Linked DNA regions of Homo sapiens: all the other regions are linked to region 6. Evidence: promoter capture Hi-C in 16 types of primary human blood cells and fetal thymus (Javierre and others, 2016). All regions are on one chromosome and are shown on one strand. The core of a region is centred on a gene start or on the middle of the fragment in contact, and the rest is flanking DNA. Distances in the headings are between cores, read along the strand shown.

What was found. The method cuts DNA at HindIII sites, captures the fragments that hold promoters and counts their contacts. A CHiCAGO score of 5 or more calls a contact.
Region 1: a fragment that was not itself captured here is called in contact with the fragment with the promoter of ABHD10 in region 6 in 8 of 17 cell types (monocytes, total B cells, naive B cells and 5 more); the score reaches 7.2 in monocytes.
Region 2: a contact is called between a fragment that was not itself captured here and the fragment with the promoter of ABHD10 in region 6, in 6 of 17 cell types (activated CD4 T cells, naive B cells, total CD8 T cells and 3 more). The highest score is 6.8, in activated CD4 T cells.
Region 3: a fragment that was not itself captured here is called in contact with the fragment with the promoter of ABHD10 in region 6 in 6 of 17 cell types (activated CD4 T cells, total B cells, naive CD8 T cells and 3 more); the score reaches 7.1 in activated CD4 T cells.
Region 4: a fragment that was not itself captured here is called in contact with the fragment with the promoter of ABHD10 in region 6 in 17 of 17 cell types (naive B cells, naive CD8 T cells, total B cells and 14 more); the score reaches 13.6 in naive B cells.
Region 5: a contact is called between a fragment that was not itself captured here and the fragment with the promoter of ABHD10 in region 6, in 1 of 17 cell types (naive CD4 T cells). The highest score is 5.0, in naive CD4 T cells.
Region 7: a fragment that was not itself captured here is called in contact with the fragment with the promoter of ABHD10 in region 6 in 1 of 17 cell types (M2 macrophages); the score reaches 6.5 in M2 macrophages.

Annotation. Positions count from the first base shown.
Region 1 is chr3:111,648,303-111,651,002 of GRCh38, reverse strand. It overlaps CD96 (CD96 molecule), which reads right to left. Exons shown (of 14, transcript NM_005816.5): 14 at 1-1,305. The coding sequence ends at 1,197. Among named protein-coding and RNA genes, the nearest start is that of PLCXD2, 25 kb to the left of the region's middle. The HindIII fragment of the contact is 847 bases long and covers 1,020-1,866 here.
Region 2 is chr3:111,590,835-111,593,534 of GRCh38, reverse strand. The region is part of intron 5 of CD96 (CD96 molecule); the gene reads right to left. ZBED2 (zinc finger BED-type containing 2) reads left to right here. Exons shown (of 2, transcript NM_024508.5): 2 at 1-635. Among named protein-coding and RNA genes, the nearest start is that of ZBED2, 3.2 kb to the left of the region's middle. The HindIII fragment of the contact is 1,514 bases long and covers 502-2,015 here.
Region 3 is chr3:111,610,121-111,612,820 of GRCh38, reverse strand. All of the region lies in intron 8 of CD96 (CD96 molecule), which reads right to left. Among named protein-coding and RNA genes, the nearest start is that of ZBED2, 16 kb to the right of the region's middle. RefSeq lists a silencer at 2,342-2,391 and an enhancer at 1,784-2,700. The HindIII fragment of the contact is 7,617 bases long and covers 1-2,700 here.
Region 4 is chr3:111,685,309-111,688,119 of GRCh38, reverse strand. The region is part of intron 1 of PLCXD2 (phosphatidylinositol specific phospholipase C X domain containing 2); the gene reads right to left. Among named protein-coding and RNA genes, the nearest start is that of PLCXD2-AS1, 9.3 kb to the right of the region's middle. The HindIII fragment of the contact is 2,499 bases long and covers 17-2,515 here.
Region 5 is chr3:111,626,371-111,629,211 of GRCh38, reverse strand. The region is part of intron 10 of CD96 (CD96 molecule); the gene reads right to left. Among named protein-coding and RNA genes, the nearest start is that of ZBED2, 32 kb to the right of the region's middle. The HindIII fragment of the contact is 1,468 bases long and covers 825-2,292 here.
Region 6 is chr3:111,977,649-111,980,348 of GRCh38, reverse strand. It overlaps ABHD10 (abhydrolase domain containing 10, depalmitoylase), which reads right to left and starts at 1,323. Exons shown (of 5, transcript NM_018394.4): 1 at 1,146-1,323. The coding sequence starts at 1,287. RefSeq lists enhancers at 1,084-1,133, 1,154-1,203, 1,214-1,263, 1,122-1,681. The HindIII fragment of the contact is 3,690 bases long and covers 19-2,700 here.
Region 7 is chr3:111,525,689-111,528,388 of GRCh38, reverse strand. All of the region lies in intron 2 of LOC105374039 (a long non-coding RNA gene), which reads right to left. Among named protein-coding and RNA genes, the nearest start is that of CD96, 15 kb to the left of the region's middle. The HindIII fragment of the contact is 8,676 bases long and covers 1-2,700 here.

The DNA of each region.
Region 1 (2,700 bases), core at 194-2,693, 330 kb after region 6:
CAAGGATAAGCATACTGCAAGTGAACTAAAGTTTCCTTTTGGGACTAAAGTCCACACAGAATTTGCCTATCACTCTATCTGTCAACAACATCTGTTTTTCCCTCCTGGAGCAGGGAGTGTGGGAAGGTTTCAAGCGACAAGGAGGATTAGTAATTTATTCATTCACAAACTATTGCTGAATACAGAGCACGTCTGGCTGACTAGGTTTCTTCTCTGACACCTATACATTCTGCTTCAACTGCTTTAAAAAAGATTGGTAGGAGCAGGGTTAATTAATCAGTGCTGGTCTGATTTGAGGCTCTTTATCTTTTTCAAAACAGATCAAAACAGGCAGATTAAATGAACAGGTAAATCCCCAGATGAAAAAGAGAATAACTGGAATTAGAAAGTAGGGTTGGGCTTAGGCTGCCTGTTTACTTACAAAACAGTTTGGTTCCAGTTTGATGGACATACACACGAAGGCACTCAAATGAAACCACTCTTGGCTAATATAATTTTAGAGGCCAGTGGAGTTTTGTATCTTCTAGGCTACTGGGTTTTTGGCTAATTATCTCTTTGATCCCTCTTCATCCTGGTCCATGTGGCAGGAGTCTGGGCTGAACATGGTAGGAAGACAGTGAAGGAGGATTGAAAATGTGGTTCCTGTGCAAAGTATTCTGTTTCCTTCCATGAAAATAAGCAACAGAATTTCAATATGAAGACTAACCATACTTCTCCATTACTTGGCAGCCTTGTTAGCACTTTTACATTTTCTTTTTCCTGTAATTATCTTAGGGAATGCAGCAAAGCCCCAGGATTTTGGCAAAGAGTTTACAATGTTGATAGATGTTCAAATAAGAGGATCAGGCATGGGCATACAGTTGAAACCATTGTTGTCCCTCCATCAGAGAATTTAAATGAAAATACTGTATTTTTTTTTAAAGATGGCAGACTAATATGTACTTCTTACATAAGCAAGAAAACCACTACGAATTGCATTGAGTGTGAACATGACATATCCTCTCACTCTTGGTTAAGCTTCAGGCGTTTGGAGATGGAAGAGGGTGAGTTGCTGGGAAAACAGGTCACTCACTTCTGACTTCCATTTCAGCTGCAGCAAAGGCATGGCTGAAGAGCGACTATATTAATAAAGCACAATGTCTACCTTCTCAATAGGATTCCAGCAGAGTTCTGCCATGGGGCAAAGTCTCACGAGACTAGAGGGTCTCCATCTCATGATAAGGCAGATCACTTTCGTTGGGCTCTTGAATGCAAGTGTACTTGATGGGAGGTGGTGGTGGCTTGAAAGGTGGAGGTCTTTCCATTCTAGGAACAAAATATTGGTCTTTCAATGCTAAGAATTGAGGGAGTCTTATGCACACACACACACAGACATGTGTTGTTTCTTTAAAGGAGAACACAGATTGATGAGAAAGAGACATACTCTCCCAGTTCTTTCAGCATTTTTGCTGGCATAACCCTGTGCCTGTTAGTCACATTTGAACCTCATGATCTATACGGTATTTTGTAGTTTGCAAAGAATTTTTATCATAACATTATTTACTTTGTATGTAGAAATTGCCTCACCATCTACAGATAAAACTGAGCATTTTTATCATAACATTATTTACTTTGTGTGCAGGAAATGTATCATAACATTATTTACTTTGTGTGCAGGAAATGCATCACCATTCTACAGATAAAACTGAGGCTCAGAGGTTTTAAACAACTTGCTCAAGAGAACCAGACCAACAATTCAAGTCTTTTCACCAGAACTGATACTCTCCATGACAACTGCCTCCTAATAGAAGAAATGTTTCTTTTATGTGGATTAAAATATTCCTCCAGAGACTAAATCTTAAAATCCTAGGATTTAAGACTGAAGCTTTTCATACAGCCTCTTTGCTAACCCTAGCCCCAGCCTTTGCCCAAACACTCACTATGTACTGCGGGGATAGGGTAGAGATGGGAAGTAAAGCTCTTCTCAATCCCCGAGTACTGGCTAGATAATGCCTAAATCCCTTTTGTTTGAATCAGTGAACATTCTTAAAGTCATCTTTGTACAAAGAACTATTTTATGTTAGTACAAGTAATCTCTTTTTCCGAAATGCATTAAAGAGCCAAGTTAGTATGGAATTTAGCTATACAAATGCTCTAGCTATCTTGATATCAGGCAACAGAAATATATCTGTGAACATCTTTATGTTCATCACTCAAACACCTCTATGCCCTGGCAATCCATAGCATCTTAGGAGAGATAAAGAGTGGGTAGTGGGGGAAGGAGGATAGAGAGATTGATTCTCATCTCCATATAAAACAAACATTTGAATACAGAACAATTTAAAAAATCAGTTCAGATTTTCAGATTTCATTTGTTCATTTAATATAAAGCTCTCTAATCCCTATTACCCAATTTTTAGATGCTTTAATGGAGACTTCATATGTATTAATAGGTAATTCTACGAAACATGCACTTTTGTTTTACTTTTGTTTTTTGGGGAATTATGAGTTTCTCAAGGTCATGTGGTGGCCAAATTGTAGTCCTTGGAAAATAATCCAGAATTTCTAACTACTGGTTTAGTGTTTTGTTCACCACTCCCTGTATGTGGTTACAGAGTCTTCAAGGATACTCTGCAAAAGGTAGGAAAGTATATGGCACAATGGTTAATGTTATCTTAGAGTAGTAGTAAGACAAGTGGAAGATCAGTTCTGGGTACTGGG
Region 2 (2,700 bases), core at 9-2,508, 390 kb after region 6:
GAGAATCTATTCTGAAAACATTGACTCTAGACTTGTAGAAAAGAGCCATTTTAGTTTCAACTCAAATGTAAAGCAAAGTAGTTTGGTGACATTTTGCTTTTATGTGAAATAGTGCACAGTATGAGTTAATCTGAGCAGGTCTGAATTGACCAAATGCTTATCTACGAGGTTCCTAGAGCTCTGCTGACCCTTGGCCGAAACTCTAAAATGTACCTATTAAAGATAAATGCTTCTACCAAAGTAAAACTCTGTGAGTTGTTTCAGGGCAGAATGTACCAGCCAGTCAGCGTTGTTTAACAAAATAATCAGATTTTTGCCTAGCACTCGGTTTTGGTGGAGCTGACGATTTTGAGGGCTGAGGCTGGTTAGGTAGCTGGAATGTGCCTATGTGACCAGCTCACTTGCAGACACCCTGCCGGAAGCAGAGCTTAATCTTCCTAGGACTGAGGTCTTAGCACATGTACTGGTGGAGTTTCCAGACCACCAGTATGAATAAAAGCTTGTTCTGTGTGACCCAGCAAGTGGAAGGACAAAGAACTGTGAGCCTCAGATCTTTGGACCTTTCCAATGCGTCTCTTTCTCCTGTTATTGCTGCAATGTATTTTCTTGCTTATATTAAAGTTGTTTCATCAGTATAATCTGAGTCCGGTGTGTCTTTTTAACAACCTAATGCTTAAACTAATTAATGTGTAATTAGCACAGAGAAATGAAAAACCTCTCAACTTACTTAGTTTAAACATTCAGTATAGATTATATAAAACTTATTCATAAATAGTTAAAATATAATCTGATTTCATATTAAGGTTTGTCAAAGGAAAAGGAGTTAGTGAGGAAGAACTGAAAGAAATTCAGAATGAAAAGAAGGCAGAGATATAAAGGAAGTAAGGAGAAATAAAGAACAGAGGAAGGAAAGTTAGAAATAAATGGGATAGAGAAGAAATGCAAAGATGGGGAAGAGAGACAGTGCTCTAGGGAAAATTTATCATGAAAATGGAAGAGAACATGACTGTCTGAATGAGGGAAGGATGGAGTACATTTTCTTAGATCCTGAAGTTAATTTTAATGAGTTAACTTGATTTTGCTTTGTGCCTACAGACCAGTTATTTATTTGAACAGTAGGTTTTAGATTTTACTCATACCTCTGAAATGCTAACTGCATGCCAATCCACTGTTCACTGATTTTTAAAAACTGTTTACCTTTAAATGTTCAGAGATGCTTTGAAAAAAGAGATCCTAACAGTCTATAGGGAGAGAGTAATTTCCTGGGCTGCTGAAAGTATGCCTAAAATATTAATTTAGAAATAGAATAAAATCAAACTGGAAAGTACTCTGGCCTCTGCACTGGACCTGATATTTGTTATAGAAGACAGATTCCTCTATAACCACACCACCCTCCTCCAACCAAACACACACATTAAAAAACAAAACATAATGTGGGTTGGGAATGGGGATGGAGTGGGGAAAGAGCTTGGGAAGACAGGAATAGATAAAGACAGCATCCCATTATCTCAGAGATAGCCCAAGTACTTTGTGGGCACCAACCTCTCTGGAAGCAGAGGATGTCCTTGTGTAACAGTGGTGTCTTGCCTCCTTTGGCCCTGACCTATGTAGTTCACTCATATTCTTCCTAGACTTGCTAGGCAGCCCTCACTTCTAGACCTGTCTTCCCTAACAGCTGTTTGTAGAACAAACAAAAGTCCAGGCACCAGGCTTGTGAAATAACCAGGCCACACTGAAGTCCCGTCATGTTCTTTTTTTATCTAGAGATCTGCCTGATATTAAAGATTTCATTTGTCATGTGGTCTCCCCACAGAGGTATGATGCCCTTTTAGAACCTTCTCTACCTGTGGTGCAAGCTCAGGTGCTCACCAGTGCAAGTGACGACGGCTGGACATTTGGACTCAGAACCTTATTATGTTGCAAAAGATGCTAGGAAAAAAAAGGAGGCTGTAATACCTAATTATTTAAAAAATGAAAACCAAAACACATATTTTTGGAGTGGGGCTTAGGAAGCTTGAGGAAACCACAGGGTTCAAGCTTTGCAAAACCCAAACCAAATAAACACAAATAATCAAATTCTGCACAAAGATGCTGGAGCTCTGCTGATGCCAACCAGTGTGGTATTTAGGTTCTGGTGTCTTTTTTTTTTTTTTTTTTTTTTTTAAGATGGAGTCTCACTCTCTTGCCAGGCAGGAGTGCAGTGGCGCGATCTTGGCTCACTGCAACCTCCGCCTCCTGGGTTCAAGCAATTCTTCTGCCTAAGCCTCCTGAGTAGCTGGGACTACAGGTGCGTGCCACCACGCCCAGCTAATTTTTGTATTTTTAGCACAGACAAGGTTTCACCACGTTGGCCAGGATGGTCTGGATCTCTTGACCTCATGATCCGCGCACCTCGGCCTCCCAAAGTGTTGGGATTACAGGCGTGAGCCACTGCTTCTGGCCTCTGGTATCTGTTTTACATGGTTATTAATATTGTAGCCTCTCTTCCTTTGTAGGCAACTTAACCCCAAACTGCTTTTGTTTCCTATGTTTCATGACAGATAATTTTCTTTAGATTTTTTTTCCTAATTTATTTCAAACATAACAAAGGTAGCGAGTGATATGAACAAGACCCATGGAGATGACGGGGCTAAAGTATAAAGCACAAGCATAAGAGTGAGAGACGTATGAGGCTTGTGGAAAGTCTGAACTGCTGAGTAC
Region 3 (2,700 bases), core at 8-2,507, 370 kb after region 6:
AAAAAGGGAGAGATTAATATAAGCATAGGTGTCATGTTTGACCTTTTCCTAAGACCTATAACAGCTTCACACTAGAAGGGATTTATTCAGTGTCTAAAGACATTTATTCAGCACCAACCATGTACTCTTTGAGGCAGCAGGACTCAAGGTCTGAAGTCTGTCTGGGCTCAATACTGGCTCATCTACTTTCTGCATGACTTTGGGTGAGTTATTTAACCTCTTTGTGCCTCAGTATCTTCATCTGTAAAGTGGGATAATAATAGTACCTAAGTAATTGTGTTGTTGGGAGGATTCAATGAGAAAATACATTTACTAGTTTAGAACAGTCCATACACATTGGAGGCAACCAACAAATATTAATATTATTGCTTAGTATTATTATACAATCATGGCAGTTGGTAAACATTTTTATGTAATTGCTAGGGAAAAAATGGAAAGGTCCTTGTATGATTGTTCTCTGAAAACCTTTTTAGTCCCTGTATTTAGGCAGACAATCCTGGTGAGCCTCTGTTGCAGCACTCTCCATTTCTACAAATGCCCATTCTAGTTCAGATCATATCATTTTTTTAACCACCTTCGTGATCATGGAAAACAAACTTAAACCACTTTAAATCTATATCATTTAGTCTTTTTTCTCCCTGCTCTTGCAACTATCACCTACCATATACATAACTGCTGTTTTCCTGACATTTTCCCACATACAAAAAAAGCCATAGTGGCTATTTGTTGTTCAGATCACAGCCCCGATTCATAGCCCATTAGTTGACGTTTAAACACAGTAGTGACATTAACTGGACAATACAGGCCTTCAACTACATCTAAACACATTTGAATCGGCCTCATCAATCTGCGTGGTCAGGATAACATGGGCACTGACCTTCAGTCCAGCATAAAGGAGACATGCTGGGCTGTGGGCTATGAATTGGGGCTAAATGAGTTGAAGCTCATCTTTACCTTGTTCCACCCCACCTAATCAACCCTTAGCCCTCTCCCAACAAGCAATGTCAGAACTCCTGCTTGTCTTCTCATGTCCTGCACTCATTTTGTTTTACGCCTTTGCTTATGATGCGAATGTGAAGATCCATTTCTCATCTTTCTTCCACCTGAGTCAGTATTTTCTTCCAGACCCTGCATGAAGACTTCCCTGATCCCCCTTCCTTTCCCCCAGCACTCACTGACTTTTCTTACTTTTCAGCAGCAGATACATGTTGATAAAGGCAGAAACTATTGGACAGCAATTGAGGCACCTGAATACAGGCATGGCATGACTAGCAAAGGGGTCAGAAGTTGCTATCACAAACAAATCACTGGAGCCTTCTCACTGTCTTGCAGACTCTCTCTGGCGTTCCCCTGTTAACACTAGAATCCAATGCCCCTATCAACTGCCGAATTTCTGATTTACTTTCTTCTAATCTCATCTAATGACATGTCTTCTGGGTTGATCCCCCACCATTTCTGACATGCTTACTCATAAATCAGTAGTTTTGTTGCATCCCCTGGTCAGTTGCTTCCTTTACCCTGTGCCCCTCAATGTCTGATCATCCACTTGCCGAAGATCAGTTATGTCTACCTGGGGTGCTGGCTGAGGGTTAGAGGCAGACTGGACCTAGTGTTTTACTCTAAGTATCCAGGAATAGAAAGACCCAGATAGTGAGGACCAGCTAAGTCCTTAGAAAGGGCTTAATATTAAAATCAACATCATCAGGTCTAAGGGTCATGTGCAGACATAACAATAGGAGGCAGAGCCAAAGGGACTGATGGGCAGTAAAACAGGAGGCAAGGCAAGTGGGTCACACAGGATCGTAAGCTCTGTAAGCAACAGGAGCCCTGTCTGTCTTGTTCATCACTGTATCCTGTACCTCAAAAGTCCCTGACACATTGTAGGCGCTCCATACTTATGAGTTTCATGAATAAGTGTCTTGGATGATTGCCACACCGGGTTGGCATCTCTTAGGCTACGTAACTCTTAGCCAAATCATAGCCAGTGAATTGAAAGGCACAGGGCTCTCTCCTCAAGGCGACGGAAACTCCTGAATTGTGTCTGTACAGCCCCACCCTGGATTCATCAGTTGTCTCTGATTGTTCCACATGGACTTGTCTCATCTTGCCACTTAGCTTGTCAGCCTGTCTTCCTTGAACTGCGCTGAGAATGCAGCTGGGACTCAGCAAACACGAATTGGTTCAGGTTGAATTGAGCTGGGCTTCCCTGGATAACTCTTACAGTTTGTTATGAGTTATTAAGTTCTCCTCCCCTCATTAAAGAATATTGCTTTCATGACCTTCAACATTTGTTTAAAAAATATCCTTTCATCGAGGAAAAAATAAGAATTGGATGCTTGCAGCCAGACATGCAGCTTCGTAATGATGACTGGATTATAAAGCTCATTACATCTTAGAATTCGGAATGAAACCACAGCCTTTGAAGTTGGTTTCCGTGACATACTTCATCTCACTTCCTTTCTTCAAAGAACATGCAAAGGTGAATCCTACCAGCTTCTGAGGCAGGAAGTCATCGTGTGATTTCACAATTACCCTCCAGTTTGCCAAGGCAAAATTTGGATTTTTCAATAGTAATTCAGTGATTATTCCAAAAAGATAAGTTTATTTAGACATAATCTGCCACTGGTTTAACATGAGTTTTATTGACATACAAAATCAAACAGAAAATTATTCCAAACATAAACTATTGTTGCCATCTTG
Region 4 (2,811 bases), core at 17-2,516, 290 kb after region 6:
ACAGAGGGGTAAAGCTTTTTACTCAAGGTCATGCAACTATTAATAGTAGCGAGGATTTGAGCCTACAACCTACACTCTGAACTACTTTTTCATAGTGCCTCCTGTGTGAATAACAAAGAGAGAGAGAGGATAAAAGATATAAGAAAAGGCTGGGCACAGTGGCTCATGCCTGTAATCCCAGCACTTTGGGAGGTCATTGCGAGAGGATCGCTTGAGCTCAGGAGTTTGAGACCAGCCTGACCTGGTCTCTACTAGAAATAAAAAAAAATTAGCCAGGTGTGATGGCATGTGCCTGTAGTCTCATCTACTCAGGAGGCTGAGATGGAGAACTGCTTGAGCCAGGAGGTTGAGGCTTCAGTGAGCCATGGTCACGTCACTGTACTCCAGCTTGGGTGACAGAGCAAGACCCTGTCTCAAAAACAAAAAAAAAAAAAAGAAAGAAAGAAAGAAAAAACCCATAAAGAACAGAGGGATGAACATGTGTTCTTAAATGCTGAAGATATTTAGGGTGGCTTTCATAGAAAAACATCTTGTATTCCAATTCAGGTATTTAATCCATACAAATATTACAATAAATTTAATATGAACAGATAATAATTGTGCATGTTAAAATATTTGAGGCCTGAGTTAAGAATATATTAATTTACAAAGTTATTAATACATATAAGTACGCCTTATGGTCATTGAATATAGCAAAAGACTTGTCTAAGAAAACAAAAAACCCTTAGAGTCCTTGGGGACAATCTTATTGTCCCTTGCCTTTCCATTTTAATTACCATCATTAGTCTGTGAGCTCACCTGACTCTACCAAGGAGACTGACCTGTTCTTTCCTCTGTGATTCCATGGCAGTGAGTTGATATTTGATGAACTTAGGACATTGAGTGCTATTTATCTCCACATCTGTCTCTGCCACCTAAGTGAAAGTCTTTCAGGGCAGGAACATGTCAACTTCACGCTTATATCTCCAAACTTAGTTTCTGGAATTTAGTAGGTACTAAATGCATCTATACAGAATAAATACAAGCATGGATACTTGAATGAACAGATGCTCAGAGAGTTGCCTAAGGCTGGTGGGCCTAGCTCTCCTGATCCTTTCCCAAACTTCTATTAGGTCCATCCAACATTAAACAGGTAGGGTTCACTCTCTGCTCCTTTTCACCCCTTGCACCTGTTTCCTAGCTCCATTTATCTCCCTTTTTCCTTCTAGCTTGAGTTATCTGGGTCAATGAAGAGGAATGTGTCAGAAAACATAGAGGACAAAATTAACCAGAAAGGATGACTAAAGGAACAACTATAATAAAATATTACATTGAACAATTTTAAAAGAAAGGTACCAGAGAGATTTCCTGAAACTTATGCCTGCATAAATTATATTCTAATAATATCTCTTTGGAGCCACCAATCTCACACTTCTGAATTAGGTCCTTGAGAAAAATGTGACATTTGTAGAGAGCTTGACTCCATATTAACAAGTAGAGAAAGGCTGAGGCATCTTTAGGGTATACAAAATTAGTCATTATGAGTCCAAGATTCCAAATGAGGGGGGCCACTTAGTAGTCCCTTGAACCAAAGATAACATCTTTAAACCTTCTTCTCAACATATCATACTTGTTTATTTTCCATGAGGCATGTGGGAGAGTATTCATAATAACCATCAAACTGCCTGCAAAATCTGAGAGAGCCATGTGGCCAATTTAATTTTTAATCAGTCGCCTATTAAATTCATAATTATCCACAATGCAATAAAGCAACTGTTTAAGGCAGAATACTTGGAAGCAGAGGATGTTGATCAACTTATTCTTTTTTATGTGCTGAGAAGCCAAGGTGCATCTCACTGTCTGAGGAGAGACAGCCTGGGAATTAAAAAAGTCTGTCTTGGTCTACCCCTGCAACTGGCTGGATGAGCTCAGAGATAATTGAAGTAAATCAGAGGTTTACAGGGTACTTTTTAGACCTGCAATACTTTCAAATGAAGTATCTATGTGTGAAACAAATGCAACCAGACCTTCTCTAGTTGAAGTTTCTCCCCAACAGTCTCCACCCCTTAACCTGAGATTGCCAGAGGGGCACCAAAGGGTACTAAACCTTCCCTGCTCTGCAAGGCACAATGAGCATTCCATTGCCCAAGGTATTCCCCAAGTTAGCTCCAACGTCCTATGATTTATGTGAGCCAAAGGGTTTTCAATCCCATGTTGTGGGGGGGAGCATTTTAAAGCCCTCTACATGGGGAGGGGTACCTATTCTCTTTTGAAAGATTTTCTCTTCTTCAATTGTCCAATAGACCCCAATCCCTACTCCAAATAAGACATTGTAGATAATTCATTCACAAGAAATTCTTCTATTCTGCTACCATGCATCCTGCTCTGTCTCCAAATAGATGGCGTCATCTTTTTGTGAAGTAACCCCTTGCAAGGGGCACTTGGTCATTCCCTAATAAGCCTTCTCAGCTCTGAGATAACCATATTTGCTTTAACAACCTTTTTGTAAACACACAAGAAAGAACAATAATAAGCTTTAGGAGAAACCAGAAAAATGTTTAGGGTAGGAGAAAAAGTTACATTAAATGAACTATTCTACTGCAAAATTCTCCTGCTTTTTTTGAGCTTATTGGTGCAACCTGAGATGTCCATGTATGAAATAAATTGTGTTTGATGATTGTGGTAAAGCAACTAAAAGTTTCCATTTCACAGCTGGTTTATGGTATAGTATACACAAGCTAACTCCTACACTCATGCCCAAGCTGCCAAGAGAGAATTCATACAGAACAGGCAGAACACTGGACACTAGACAAACACGAGGGGGCACCTCTC
Region 5 (2,841 bases), core at 309-2,808, 350 kb after region 6:
TGTGTCTTTTAATTGGGGCATTTAGCCCATTTACATTTAAAATTAATATTGCTGTGTGTGGATTTGATCCTGTAATCATGATGCTAGCTGGTTATTTTTCAGACTTGTTTATATGGTTGCTTCATAATGTCAATGGCCTGTATACTTCAGCGTTTTTTTGTAGTGGCAGGTAATGGTCTTTCCTTTCCATTTTTAGTGCTTCCTTCAGGACCTCTTCTAAAGCAGATCTGGTGGTAATGCATTCTCTCAGCATTTGCTTGTCTGAAAAGGATATTATTTCTTCCTTATGTATGAAGCTTAGTTTGGCCAGATATGAAATTCTGGGTTGAAAATTCTTTTTTATGTATGTTGAATGTAGGCTCCCAATCTCTTCTGGATTGTGGGATTTCTGCTGAGAGGTCCACTGTTAGTCTGATGGGCTTCCCCTTTGTAGGTGACCTGGCCTTTTTCTCTGCCTGCCCTTACCATTTTTTTCTTTCATTTTGACCTTGGAGAATCTGACGATTATGTGTCTTGGGAATGATCTTCTCATGGAGTATCTTACTGGGGTTCTCTGTATTTCCTGAAATTAATGTTGGCTTGTATTGCTAGGTTGGTGAAGTTCTCCTGGATGGTATGTTTTCCAAGTTGGTTCCATTCTTGTCTCTTTCAGGTACCCCAATCAGTCATAGATTCAGTCTCATTGCATAATCCCCTGTTTCTCAAATGTTTTGTTCATTTTTTTCACTCTGTTTTCTGTTTTTGTTGGCCTGTCTTATTTCAGAAAGACAATCTTCAAGCTCTGAGATTCTTGCCTCCACTTGGTCTATTCTGCTATTAAAGCTTGTGATTGCATTGTGAAGTTTTTGTAGTGTGTTTTTCAGCTCTATCAGATTGGTTATGTTCCTCTCTGTACTGGCTATTTAGGCTGTCAACTCCTGCATTGTTTTATCATGATTCTTAGCTTCTTTGCATTGGGTTACAATGTGCTCCTTTAGCTCAGTGAACTTCATTTTTATCCATATTCTGAAGGCTACTTCTGTCATTTCAGTGATCTCAGCCTTAGCCCAGATCTGAACCATTGCTGGGCAGGTGTTGAGATTATTTGGAGGAAAGGGAGCATTCTGGTTGTTGTTTTTTTTCTTTTTCTTTTTCTTTTTTTAAAGTTTTCAGTGTTTTTGTGCTAATTCTTTCTCATCTTTGTGGGCTTATCTGCCTTTGATCTTTGAGTTTGCTGACCTTTGGATGGTTTTTTTGTTTTGTTGTTGCTGTTGTGTTTTATTTGTTTTCTTTGAACGACTAGTCTGGGCACTCTTCTGTAGGGCTACTGTGGTTTGCTACGGGTCTACCCCAGACCCTAGTCACATTGGTTTTTCCAGTACCTGGAGGTATCATCAGTGAAGGTTGTGAAACAGCAAATATGGCCACCTGCCTATTCCTCTGAAAGCTCTGTCCCAGGGGGGTACTGACCTGTTGCTGGCCTGACCGTGCCTGTAGGAGGTGGTTGGAGATTCCAGTTGGAAGATCTCACCCAGTCAAGAGGAATGGAATCAGGGACCTGCTTAAAGATGCAGTCTGGCTGCATTTTGGTAGAGCAGCTGTGCTATGTTGGAGATCTCTTCAGCACCCAATTGATTTGGGCTCTTCAAGGCCCACAGCCTGAACTGGATGAGATGCCCAAACAGCAAATGTCTGCCTCACCCACTGGGCACTCTGTCCCAGGAAGAAATTAGAACTCTGTTGGCCATAGAACATGGGTGGGGCTGGCCAGAGGCCCTGGCTGGGAGGACCCTCCCAGTGAGGAGGAATGGATCTGGGTCTGTTTAAAGAAGCAGTCTGGTCATTCCTTAACAAAACAGCTGTGCTGGGGAACTGTGTTGTGGAACTGCCTCTGCTCTGTTCCGTTTGGACTTTCCAGTGCCTACAGGCTGGAAGGGCTGAGTCATCCAAACAACCAAGGTGATGGCCCACCCCTCCCACAAGGCACTCTGTCCCAAGGAGACATCAGAGTTCTGTCCATAGAATACAGCTGGTGGGGTGGCTGGAGGCCCCAGCTGTGAGGTCCTGCCCAGTGAAGAAGAACGGATCAGGGTTATGGCTATTGTTTTGGCTGGCTTCATAGTATTTCATTGAGTTATCTCATCCTATTTGCCATTTCTTATTACTGAACATATTTTTCACCCTCTTAATACCCTCTCACTCCTACTCATGTACACAGATTTATACATGTTTTCTCCCTGTCTCATCCCTTATATCTCCATCAAAAGCAAATGCTGTCCTGAATGTTTATAATTATTATTCACTTATAAAGCTTAAAATTTTATATCACATATTACGTCTAAGGCATATGGTGTTTATACTTGCTTTAAAATTTCATTAGAAAATATGCCATATGTTGTTATTTGGTATTTACTTTTTAATTCAACATAATGTTATTAAGATTCATTCATGCTGTTGTATATGGTTGCCATTCACTTGTTTTTCATTGCTCTTTAATATTATATTTTATTAGTATACTACAATTTATTTATCTGTCCTCCTGACTATGGCCATTTAGATTACTTAAAGTTTTTGCTATATGAACAGTGTTTCCTCCAAACATTTGTGTGCATATCTCATGCATAGATGTACTAATTTTGGAGGGATTTTTATATCTAGGAATAGAATTGTTGGATTGTAGGTATGCACATATTCAGCTTTGAAATACAATGCCAAAGGATGGTGGAAAGTGATGGTACCACCAGTAACATATAAGAAATTATGTTGAAAGGATGCTGGATAAATCCTATTCAATAGTTGGCAATATCAGATTTCTTAATTTTTGTAAACTGATTACATATAAAATGATTTTCTAATTCTAGT
Region 6 (2,700 bases), core at 74-2,573:
CCTTTTTACATAAAAGCTTGTTTCAAAGTATAGAGAAATATGCCAAATTTAAAACTTTTGGTAAGGACCAGTTATGCTGATCCACTCATGTTCATTTCCCATCTACTCAGCTGAGCACTAAAAAAAATTCTCACTATCCTCTTCCAGAAATCACCTCTTAAAACATAATTTCCCCGAGATGATTATAATTTATTTAATGTAAGTTCTAAGTAGACAGATTCATATAATTATATTCATAAATCATCTTTGAACATAAGGATTAATTCAAAGCCTGGTGCATAAGTGCTCAATGAATAAGTGCTAACTAGATGAAATAATATTATACTCTGGTTAATGAATTGACATACTACATTTTACTAGGAGTATTTGCATGTGTAACATGCCTTTTGGTTGCGCACAATTAAATGCAAGTTAATCTGATTATAAAAGTTTAAAAACTGGATACAAAAATCTCCATACAAAAGATCTCTGCCGTGACATTAATTACCACTCCAAGCACCATGCATCATCTGACAGCTACGTGGCAATGGTGTGAACCACACACAAAGCCAAAAAAATAAAAGGATCTAATTCAAAGACTATATATACATATAAGAGGTTCTCTGATTTTTAGCCCAAATTCTAGTTTCCTTTGTGCAATAATGATTATGGTTCTTTCACTGAGTGGGTGCAGCAAGAAAGCAGAACTAGAAATTAGGCTTATGAGGGCGTCTACACTTTTACAAAGAACATGCCTCGCATTGTTAGGTTCCCTAAACTCAAAGGAGAGTCAGTCTAAGCATTTTAGGAGTCACAATCTACAAATTCCTAGAAGTAACTAATAATAATGCATTAAATGCACATTTTAATTTTTTCTAGTGTTGGCCTTTAATGCAGGGGAGGCAGGTAAGGAGCAGGAGCTCTTTAAACTGCACAGTGTAAAACGCCAGCGAGGGCCCGGGGTGCCCAGAATGCCGCAGGGCCGCGGCAGAGCTCTCCTCACAGCCTTCACCAGAAGTCTACAAAGCGCCTAGAACTGGGGTGTTGAGAAAGGGGGAGGAGCATTTTTGAACCGGGCGCCAAAGACGCACTGCACAGGCACGGTAACTGACGGAACCCGAGGCGTTCGAAAGAACGCATCCTACTCCCGCCTTTCGGACACTGACCTGGGAGCCACCGTGGCGCCCGCTGAGGTATCCGTGCAAGCAGCACGCTGAGGCCACGGTGGGGACCGAAGGGGACGGCTGCCCAGCCCCAGCTCCGACAAGGTACCCAGGCCGCCACAGCTGCCAAGCGCGCAACCGCCATCTTCGTAGTTGTCCCCGCACCCTGCAGTGTCCCACTGAGGGACACGCTACGCAACGGAACCGAGGCTGCGCATGCGCTTCAGGCTGGAAGGCGGAACTTGCTAAAGAGCTCCCCGCAAGATTTTCAGCTTGCGAAGAGCGCACATGCGCAGAGCGTCGTGGCTCTTTCGTTTAGACTGTTGGTTCTACTAGTAGCGGGGTTTGGCTTGGGGCCTTTAAGATGTTTTGAGTGGCGTCGGGAGGCTGCCCTATCAGCGGGCTGATAGATACTACAGAGCTGGAAGCTCAGAAAGGAACCCTATCCAACGGTCCTAGATGGGAAACGTCTCCTGTCGAGGACACCAGGCTTGCTGCATCACCTGCAATCCCGCCGACCGCGTGACAGTTTTAACCTGTACTGGAAATGCTCCCAAGATCTGACATTAATCTCGCCTGTATAACCTGGAATGGTATCGGACATTCCCCGCTCTAGATCTATATGCCTGATTAACGAAATACTGAATTATCTTGGCCCCCTCCTCGTGCTATATGCGAAAATAAATTTCAGTAAAAAAAGATTTCAACGGAAGAATACAACTGAGAGGATTAAATAAATTTTAGGAGAATATTATATAATCCGGGGACAGAAGGGACTTTCTTAACCAAGATTTCAAAACCCCAACATCATAAATAAAAAATATATTTGTATACGAATTTAAACTTTTTGAATGGCAAAAGACACCTCAAGTTAAGAGCTTAGAAAAATGGATTTTGTAGCATAGATACATTAATACTTCTACTCAGCCTGCTCCTATAAATAAGAAATATAATTCAAATAAAATTGGCCAACAGCTATAAATAGGCAGCCCATATAAGGAAACATGATGCTCAAACTCACTAAATGAAAAACTGGAATTAAAAAAATAATGCCTTTTTCCCCCCATTCAGTTGGCAAAAAAGAAAAATAATTGGCAAGGATGCTAGACACTAGCACTTATGTATGATTGCTAGGAAGGTGAATTACTAAAATTTGTTGTGAAGTAATATGGCCACATCTATTACAATTTTAAAATATGCATCCATTCCAGTGCCTTTTAACGCAGTGGCACCAATTTGTGATTATCCTATAGAAAAACAACACTAGTTCTTAAGACTGCATATTATCTACTACACCGTTTTTAGAGGCAAAGAGAAGGAAAAAAATGGGAATGGCTAACAATAGAAAAATAGTTGAATAAATTGTAGTACAAGGGTTTCCGGACTCCAGCTCTAAATACCTTTCAAACTAATTCCTGGGGGCCTCAAGCATCAACCATGGAGTTTTACGTAGTAGTTTCCTATTTAAAAGTTATGGTGGCTTGTGTAATACTTTGAGTATATATAAGATAGTAAAGTAACTTTTATTATCCTGGTTATAAATTTGGGGGGCAGTAAT
Region 7 (2,700 bases), core at 44-2,543, 450 kb after region 6:
AGGGGTATACCCGGGTTGAGAAGAATTATTATTATGCCAATTGGAGTCCCATAAAGTAGGATCAGCATCAAAAAGAGGAAAAGGGTTCAAAGGGGATTTACCATGGGGTTCAGAATCACGGATGCAAGGGGCGGTAGTGGGGACAACAGACAGAAAAGTTTCCCCCTCCCATACTCAGAGTCTGGACATGACAATAGCCAATTTCCTATGTTCTGGGTGTTCTGGGCTCAGAATGGGGAATATCATATGAGGCCTCAGGTGGGGGGTAATGCCCTTATATTCCCATTTTAAGGGAAAGAATGAGCTGAACCTCCTACGCAAAGTAGGATGATGATCCTCGCCCTCCCAATAAGAAATAAAATAAGTACCCTCCAGGCATTCCCTTCTGCCAGAGGAGTAATTGTTTTTTAAATAGCCCTTTGGTGCCCAGCCTATTACTAAACCATATGGGTTTTTTTTAATACTGCTGCATGTGAGTTAACACAGTCTTCCCAAATTAAAGTTTTAGATGGGCCCTCAAAATTTTTAGGACATGGTTTTCCTACAGGTTTATATTGAAAGTATGGGGTATCTCCTATTACTCCCCTTTTTATTTGTCTTAAAGGAGAAAGGGAGAGGCCGGAGACCAAATGTCCTCCTTCCCTTGTAGCTAATCTCTCTGGAAGATAAGCAGACCAGACTTGAGTTTCTAGATGGATACAACCAGGTGCATGTCCGAGGCACAGAGGACGGTATTTATAACCCATAGTAACATTAAATGCAATGCCCTCTTCTCCTGGTTGAGCAGGGCAACGGTCATCTCTAGCTCCAGGCATCCACACACGATCGTTAGTATAGATTTCCTCAGGAGCATCCATCCAGGTGAAAGTTCGAATAAGTGGAGGAAAAGGCACATAAGCCCAATAAGAATAATTTTGTGTAGCAGGTAAATCAGTTTGAGGGGAAACTGGTGAGACAGAAAGTATAAGGAGGAGAATTATTAAATAAAACCAATTTAAGCAAGGTCCAGTGCTGAAGGAAGAAGAGAAGAACAGAGGGTTGTTATTTTCAGACTAATAGAAATGGCGAGATTTTTAGGTTCATAAGGAGAAAAAGAAAGGGAATTAGGAGAAGTGGGATTAGTTAGAGGGGTCTCCATTGCCATTAGGGAGGATTAAACCAGACCCATTTTGATTTGGCATGCCAGTTTCTGCAGAGTCGGCACAGATCTCACCAGGTATGATGGCGGTCTCTGACGCAGATGTCTTTTCCTTGTGGTTTTCATTGTCAGTATTTACAGGAAGTTTAAGTCTTCTAGTGGGCACCCAGACAGGGGATTGATGATCTCCAGGTGAAACACAAGCATACCCTCGTCCCCACATTAAAATTGTTCCAGGTTCCCAGGTATTGGTCTGGGAGTTTTTCCATAATACTGGCTTGCTTCCATTTAGGGAGAATTTTTTCCCTGTATAATGGCGTTCAGCTGCAGTCAGAGTATTGTCTTTAGGAACATTTAGAAAGTTTAAAGTAAACAATGCTAAATGTAATTGGGAGTGGGGAGTGGTTACATTATGCTTTTGTTGCTCAGACTGTTTGGACAATGGAGTTTTGAAAGTGCGATTGGCCCATTCCACCACAGCCTGTCTCTGAGGAAGTACTTTCTATTCATAATGAGCTGCAGGCTCCTGATTATTGATAATGGTACAGTAAAAGCAAATTTTTCACAATCCGATTTATGTAAAACAATATGAAAGAAACAGTCTTTAAGGTCAATCACTATGAGAGGCCAATTTTTAGGTATTAAAGCAGGGGCAGGCACGCCGGGTTGGACAGGTCCCATAGGTTTAATTACAGCATTAATGGCCCTTAAATCAGTTACCATCCTCCGCTCACCTGAATTTTTTTTTTTTTTTTTTTTTTTTTTTACTGGAAACACAGGAGAATTCCAGGACAAAAGAGACGGTTCCACATTTCCAACTTATAACTGTTCAGAAACCAATTGAGTTAAAGCCTCCAGTTTTTCTTTAGAGAGCAGCCACTGCTGAATCCAAACAGGTGTTTCAGATTTCCATTACAAAGTTACAGGATTAGGAGGCATGGCAGTGGCCGTCATTAAAAGGGATAACCTAAACCAGCCCTGTCTTCTTTTACAGTAACTTGAAGAGGTTTAGTAATTCCTTCATGTCTTGGACCGAGACCAAGTCTGGGAACAAACCCCATGTTTTCCATTATATGTTGACTGGGAACACTATAAGAGTTACATGGAATATTAATTTCAGCCCCCCACTGCGCCAGCAAATCTCTACCCCAAATATTAATGGGGGTTGGTGTGATATAAGGCTGAATTGTACCCTTTTGACCATCAGCACCAGTGCAAGGCAAGATAAATGTGCTCTGGTGAAATTCATCAGCTTTTCCAACACCTACTAGTCCCATGTTAGCGGGATGTTTAAGCCAGGAGGAAGGCCATAAATTAGAGGAAATAATAGAAACATCAGCCCCAGTATCTACTAGGCCGTCAAACTTTTTTCCTTGAATGTGTATGGTGCAGGTGGGCTGTTGTTTAGAAATTACATTAATCCTATAAGCAGCTTTTTCACTGCCGGAGCCCATCGCAGGGCCCCATGTCTTATCTCCTTTGTTTAAAATAATATTAGGTAGTAAAAGTAATTGAGCAATTGACTCACCGGCCAAAATGGAAACAGGAACTTTGGCAGACAC